Linked DNA regions of Homo sapiens: region 1 is linked to region 2. The links are contacts of gene promoters, found by promoter capture Hi-C in human tissues and cell types (Jung and others, 2019). All regions are on one chromosome and are shown on one strand. The core of a region is centred on a gene start or on the middle of the fragment in contact, and the rest is flanking DNA. Distances in the headings are between cores, read along the strand shown.

What was found. The method cuts DNA at HindIII sites, captures the fragments that hold promoters and counts their contacts. A contact is called where the count stands out against the background at its distance.
Region 1: a contact is called between a fragment that was not itself captured here and the fragment with the promoter of DUSP28 in region 2, in 1 of the 25 tissues and cell types used here (dorsolateral prefrontal cortex).

What each region holds. Positions count from the first base shown.
Region 1 is chr2:240,804,724-240,808,275 of GRCh38, reverse strand. The region is part of intron 1 of KIF1A (kinesin family member 1A); the gene reads left to right. Among named protein-coding and RNA genes, the nearest start is that of KIF1A, 14 kb to the left of the region's middle. The HindIII fragment of the contact is 7,215 bases long and covers 1-3,552 here.
Region 2 is chr2:240,557,952-240,561,651 of GRCh38, reverse strand. It overlaps DUSP28 (dual specificity phosphatase 28), which reads right to left and starts at 1,295. Exons shown (of 2, transcript NM_001370465.2): 1 at 575-1,295; 2 at 1-322. The coding sequence starts at 967. The coding sequence ends at 185. ANKMY1 (ankyrin repeat and MYND domain containing 1) reads left to right here and starts at 3,664. Exons shown (of 18, transcript NM_001282771.3): 1 at 3,664-3,700. RefSeq lists enhancers at 77-436, 467-536, 569-710 and silencers at 807-856, 1,037-1,446, 3,505-3,700. The HindIII fragment of the contact is 5,674 bases long and covers 1-3,466 here.

The DNA.
Region 1 (3,552 bases), core at 216-2,715, 250 kb before region 2:
AAATATTTTTTCTGTGGATTCTCTTGATTTATGTGTAGATGAGCAAATGGTCTGCAGATAATGACAGTTTGGTTTCTTTCTTTCAAATTCATATTTATGTTGTTTGTTATTTTCCTGTCTTACTGGTTTGGCCAGAACCTCTCCTACAATGTTAAATAGAAGTAGAGATAGCAAGCATCCTGGACTTGTTTCTGAATATAAAGGAAATGTTCCTATCATTTTACCATTAAGTGTGATGTTTGGGTAGGTTTTTAGTAGATAGCTATTATGAGGTTAAAAAAGTTTTCTTTTATTCTAATATTGCTTAGAATTTTATCACAAATGAGTCTTGAAAATTATGGAATGCTTTTTTAGTATCTATTGAGGGCCTCATATTCTTTCTTCTTTAATTTGAAAATTATAATAATAGCTATCCTAATGTCAAGCTATACTGGTATTCCTGGAATATGCTTACCTGCATTGCCCTTTTTATTTGTTACTGTATTTTCTTGCTAATTTTTCAGACTTTTGTACCTATGTTCATCAGTGAAACTGGTCTATAATCTTTCTCAATTTTTTCTTGTTTACTTTGATGCTAAAATTCTATTAGCATCAGTGAATGAGCTAGGAGTACAGTTGGCTCTCGATATCTGTGGGTTCTGCATCTGTGAATTCAACCAGATCAAAATTTTTGGAAAAAAAGAATGGTTTGTCTATACTGAACATGTACAAATGTTTTTCCCTTGTCACTATTACCTGGACAATACAGTATAGCAACTATTTATTAATACATAGCATTCACATTGTATTAGGTATTATAACTAATCTTGAGATGATTTAAAATATATGGAAGGGGCTGGGTGCGGTGGCTCATGCCTGTAATCCCAGCACTTTGGGAGGCCAGCGCGGGCAGATCATCTGAGGTCGGGAGTTCAAGACCAGCCTGACCAACATGGAGAAACCATGTATCTACTAAAAATACAAAATTAGTTGGGCATGGTGGTGCATGCCTAGTGGCGCATACTAGGGAGGCTGAGGCAGGAGAATCGCTTGAACCCGGGAGGCAGAGGTTGCGGTGAGCTGAGATCACACCATTGCACTCCAGCCTGAGCAACAAGAGTGAAACTCTCTCTCTCTCTCTGTGTATATATATATATATATATATACACACACACACACACACACACACACACACACACACACACACACACACACACATATATATGAGGATGTGTAGGTCAAATGCAAATAGTACACCAGCTCATATGAGGGACTTGAGCATCTGTGGATTTTGGTATCTGTGGGGGGTCCTGGAACCAATCTCCTACTGATACTGAGGGACGACTTTATATTCTTTGGGTGTTTCCCTCTCTTTCCTCCATTCTCATAAAGAGTTTGTATAGGACTGATATTATCTTTTAAACAAATGTATGGTGGAACTCACCTATAAGAAGTGTCTGAATCTGCTGCCTTTTTTTGTGGGTAGATTTTTAAACTATTGGATCAATTTCTTTAATAATTGTAGGAAAATTCATGTTTCTATTGCTTATTTTTCTCATAGTTATGCATCACATTTTCCTGGTTCTTGGCAGGTCTAGTAATTTTTGATTGGATGCTAGACATGATTTTTAGTTTTTAGAGAGTCTGACTTCTATTTCTTGCTTTAGTGCATGTTGGGCTTTGTCTTGGCAGGCGCTTAACTTACTTGAAGACCAGTTTGATCAGTCAAGGCCTGTTCTTAAGCTTTTCTAGAGCTGGTCTAGAGTAGACCACCTGCAGGAATAGTTTAGTCCCCCACCTAGGGCATGCCTTCTCCAGGGTCTCCACGGAATATCTGGAGTGGAGGCTCAAGAGGACTCCCTGTTCTGGCTGATAGGATCACAGATGTCTCCTTACCTTGTGTGAGTTTTGAGAATTGTTCAGATTACAACGGCCCAGTCTTTTTGTGTCTGGATTATCCAGGAATGGACTAGTACTCTGAAAAGACTCAAGTGTACCCCGGTGCAAATTTCTGGACTTCTGCTGAGCAGCTCCTTTCTTCCAGAACTCTGACTCACAACCTCCAGCTGCCTCTGCCCACCCAAACTCTGACCACCATCTTCTCAACCTGTCAAAGCTGCCAAGGCGCTTGGGTCCTACCTTGCTGTGCCTGCCTCCAGGCAGATTTGGAGTGATCACAGGGCTCACCTAGTATGTGCCCCTTCTCTCAGGGATCACAGTCCTGCACTGCCTATTGTCTGATGTCTGAACACCAGTATTTTCGTATATTTTGTCTTCTTTGCTAGTTATTGTTTACAGTGAGAGGTTAAGCCTGGTCCCTGGGACTCTGTCATGGCTGGACATGAAAACTCCATGTTTTGCTATTAGTGTTTTCATTTCCATTTAGTAAGTATTTTTATATTTTCATCATGATTTTTCCTTTGGTTTGTTATTTAGAAGTTTATTTTTTAAATTTCTAAACATATGGGTTTTTAATTATTTTTAAATTAATTTTTAGTCTAATTGTGTTCAAATTACATGATTCATTTTATACAGGTCTTTGAAAGCTACTGGGAGTTGCTTTATGGTCTAGTACATGGTAAAATATTGTAAATGTTCCATATGTAATGGAAAAGAATGTTGCTCTAATTTTCTGCGAGAGGCACATATGTCCATTAATTTATGATTATTGTGTTATTCATGCTATGCTCTTATTAATTATATATCTGCTTGATCTACCAATTAGTGAGAAGTGTGTTAAAATCCCTGTCATGATAAATTAATGAATTCCTCCATATTACTTGACTCTGAACTTTGGTTTTATATTTTCGCCCTTTTTTTCTTTCTGGGATCATTTTGGGTAATTTTTTTCTGACATATTTTCCAGTTCATTAATTCTGTGTTGAGCTCCATTTAATTTGCTGATTAGCATGTCTGCTAAGTTTTCAGTTTTAAATAATTACATTTTATTTCTAAAAGTTCTGCATGGTTCTTTCCCATATGTTACCCCATTGTTTTTCAGTTCTGCTTATTTCTTAGAACATTTAAGCCAACTTATTTTTATAATCTGTATTTCACAATTTTAATATCTGAAGTCGCTGAGGATCTAATCCCTCTCTTCCCTTTCTCTTTCTTCTCCCTTCCCTCCCCTCTCCCTCCCGCCTCCCTCCCCACTCCCCTCTCCCTCCGCCCTCCCTCCCCTCTCCCTCCCTCCCCTCTCCCTCCCCTCTCCCTCCCCTCTCCCTGCCCTCTCCCTCCCCTCTCCCTCCCCACTTCCCTCCCCTCCCCTCCCCTTCCCTTCCCTTTCCTTCTTCTCTCCTCTCCTTTTTTGGTGACTCTTGCTTATGGTGAATTGCTTCTCCCAGTGTTTGGTAATATTTCATTGTGAGCTAACATTTGGCTGATGTTCATATGTGGGAATCTTGGGGCCCTGGGAAAGGAAGCCTTCTCCTGGGAGGATTTGTATGTGCTTTGTTAGGTGCTTTGGGGCCTAACTCCTGAGAACTACTCTGAGCTAACTTCTTGAATTTGGATTTCACTGATCATGCAGGTGTTGTAAATTTGAAACCCAAACTTTATGAGGACAGGCCTGTG
Region 2 (3,700 bases), core at 46-2,545:
TTCTTTTTGTGTCTGTAAGATAATTTGTGCATCACCTCAGCCGGAAATATAAAATTAAAAGCACTATGTTTCACACACACACACACAAAGGAAAACTCGATATGACAGTGAGGAAGAAGGGTAAAGACCAGCCTTCTGTATCAGTGCAGGGACATCCTTCCTCCAGGCAGCAGGCCTTCAAGCTTCAAGCCTCAGGGCCCAACCCTAAGGCTGGGGGCTCTCCCTGCAGGCAGGACTGGGCCTGGAGGGCCTCCTCATACTTCTGGAGCTGAGACCAGAAGCCCGGGTTCGGTTCTGCTACCGGGCGAGCGCTCTTCACCATCTGCAAACAAGAAGTGTACTGAATAACCCCAAGTCGCGCTAATGGCCAGCAGGGGCCAAGGCGGGCCCAGCTGTAAGAGTGGGCCCCGCCCAACCCGGAAGTGCCTCTCTGCTTCCCTAAGCCCGCCCTCACGAGAGAGACCCGCCCCTCCCGGAAGTGCCTGTCCCAATCCCGAAGCCGGCCCCGCCCGGAAAACTCGTCCCCGGAAGACACGCCCCTCTCGAAACACCGCCCCCCTAAAGGCCCGCCCACCTGGAAGGCCTTCGCCAGGCTGAGGCCGCGGTGCCGCATGAGGTACGCGGTGCAGACGGCGGCCGAGCGGCTGCGGCCGTTCTTGCAGTAGACTAGGCAGGCGCCGCCGGCGCGCACCGCGGCCTCCATGGCGGCGCACGTGGGCTCCAGGTGCGCCAGCAGGTCCTCAGCCGGGTCGTCGAACACGGGCACGCGCAGCTCTGCCACGCCGGGCGCGCGCGGGCCGGGCTGCTGGCGGGAGACGTTGACGCACAGCGTGACTCCCGCGCGCGCCAGCTGCTCCTCCGCGCCCGCGGCTCGCGCGCTCCCGAGGAAGAGTGAGGGCGCGACGCGCACCAACGGTGGAGGTACGGGCGAGGCGGCCCCGCGGCGCCCAGCTTCTGCCGGTCCCATGGCGCCCGCCGAAGAGTCTGCTTTTGGGCCCTGAGGATCTATTTTGGGGGCTCAGGCGCCCGCCCAGGAGTCTATTTGTGGGAGCCGGGCGGGCCGCCGGGCGCCCCCGGGTCCTAGAGGCCTCCGAGGTGGACCAGGCTGGGGCTTGGGTCCCCCGCGGGCGCTGGGCCGGGACAGGGGGCTTGGGTCTCGTTGGGGCCGGGGCATGGCGGGAGGTTTGGGCCTCACCAGGGCGCCGGGGCCTTGGACCGCTCTGCGTCCCATGTTCTCTGTCCCCGGGCGCCGTCCTCCCCGCCCCCGCGGCCTGTGGCACTGGGCTTGCGTCTGTGGCTCTTGGGCGCAGCGCCCTGCCCGCTCTACTGCGGCGTCTGGCGCGGAGGCGTGGCTTGGCCGGGCCCGCCCACTTCGCGTCCGCGTCGTTCGGCTAGGGCCCCGTGGCTACCCGGTGCACGTGGACGGCGGGCTGCGTGGTTCCCGTGTCTTCACCCTTTCCCTAGTGACTGCGTTGTCGGCTTTACGTTTATTCCTTTTTGTGGCCCGCTTTGTAATTGGTGCATTTTTTTCTATGTATTATAACACATGGCTCATAAAATAAAACTAATTTCTATTTTCATCACTTCTTCATAGACCACACTATTCCTTTTGCTGTTTCTAAGTAATTTATTGGGGTCAGCATTGTAACTTTAAAAAATTTAATATCACTTAATGTCCATGAAATTGCCATTTAAGACTCCTTCAATTTTTCTGACATCTGGTAATTTTCAGGCAATGGATACACTGAAAAGCAACTGTCTCAACAGCCCTACAGACATTTAGCAATTGAAGTTTCAGTTGCATACAGTCTCTCTCTGGGTTATCGTCATTGCTTTGTCCATCAGCCTTCTAGCATTGGTAACTGTCAGATCTTTATTGCAGCCTGGGGTTCACTCTTGAGCTAAAGACTCAAATATGTCTGCAGCCAGGTCTTCCCTGGTTGCAGCTCCAGACATCACCTCCGTGGAGGTCTTATCAGCATCTGTTTCCCACTTCCTCCACCCTAAGGAAGGACTCCAACTTTCCTAGGATGGAGGAGTGGAATTCCCTTTTTTTCCCTGGCGTTCATGGGAGCCATTGATTAGGTTGGGACACTGTCTCCCTCCGCTTTCTAGGAGTTGGCTCTGTCTCTGGCCAAAAGTGAAGGCCACACTCCCGTGACTGCTCTGGGAATGAGCTTGGTGTCTAATAACCCATGAAGGAGAGAGCACTTTGGAAGGCTCCTCTGTTCTCTCATGGCCATAAGGGGAAGCCAGCCTTGGGTGAAAGCAGAGGAGATGGGAGAGCCAAGGTCCTTGATGCCACTGTTGGGCCACTGAAATGAATCAAACAAAACCTGAAGTCCCTCCTCCTCCTGGACTGTTTCATGAATCATCATCACCCTTTACGGTTGGAGGATGGTTGAGGTGGGTTTTCTGCTCCAAAGCCTGCTACTTGAACCATCATGCTCCCACTCCATTGAGGTAATGGATTGGGAACCAATTCATCCTAAGTGTCTCTGCATCTCATTGCCACACTTAGTCTGGGCCAGCCTCTGTCTCCTGGACTTGGTGCTAGTCCCCCACAGTGTAACCAGAATGTGCTTGCTAAGAACAGAGGGTTTCTACATGTTGGTTCTGACTCCTTAGCAAGTTGTAATTCACAACTAATGTGGGTTGTGAAATCAATTCTGTGGGTCATGATCAGCATTTTAGTTTTTAGAGAAATAATAGACTACATGAAAATATTAGAGTGCATGCATGTAGTATGCCGAACTTTTAATGAAACATTTTTCTGAGTGGTTTGTACTGGGTCGTGGTGTAAAATGAGATTTTAGAGAGAAGTGAACTCAACAGACAGGCACTGGCGTGTGGAGGCAGAGCCCCTAGAACCCCAGAATCCTGGCCCAGCCTTAGTCCTTAGTCCCCGGAAAGCTAGCCAGTGGGGAGGGCCAGGGCATCAGCTCTTCACACCCCCTGCCCTGTTCTCAGAGGCAGTCTGGGTTGAGAAAACGCAAGCCCTGCACCTCCAAGAGCCTCTCCCCTCTTTGCAGGAAGGCCCAGCTGTTTCCCACCATGGTGCCTCTGTACATCCCAGTCCAGTTCCTGAAATGCGCTCTGTAGCCTGGAGAGCTCCTGCGCATCCTGTGAAGCCCCATCAAGAATCCGCTCTCCTGCAGTCCTTCCCCGAGGCCCTCGGAGGGTCCAAGACAGCCAATCCCTCTTCTCTGCGGTGACTCTTGCGGCCTCCCTCATCTCGTTCCCTCCGCAGGCCTCGAGTTACCCTTGCGCCTTCCACATTTACTGAATGAACAAAGGCCGGGGCTGGAATCAGGCAGGGCTTGAGCAAGTCGTGGCTCCACGTGCTAGGTGATCAGGGCAAGTTAATTAACACTTGGGCCTCAGTTTCCTCAGGTGTCCCACGGCGCTCCCTGTGCCCCCATCACGGGAGTGTTGGGGGAATTTAGCGCTTTCTCTCCCAGGGGTACTCGGCCCAGGGGCTGACCGGGTAAGCGGGAGGCTGGCACCGAGGCCCGCGGGGTGTCGGCCCCAAGCCCCTGAAGTCACAGAGGGCGGGCACGCCCGGAGGCGGGGCCGGGTGCGTCCTGGCGGGGGGATTGGCGGAGCCGGAGAGTGGCAGCGGGCATGGGGCGGGGCTGTCTCCAGGGAAACGCGACGCTCTCCGTAGGCGCAGGGCTGGCAAGCAGTCGGGACGGGAGCG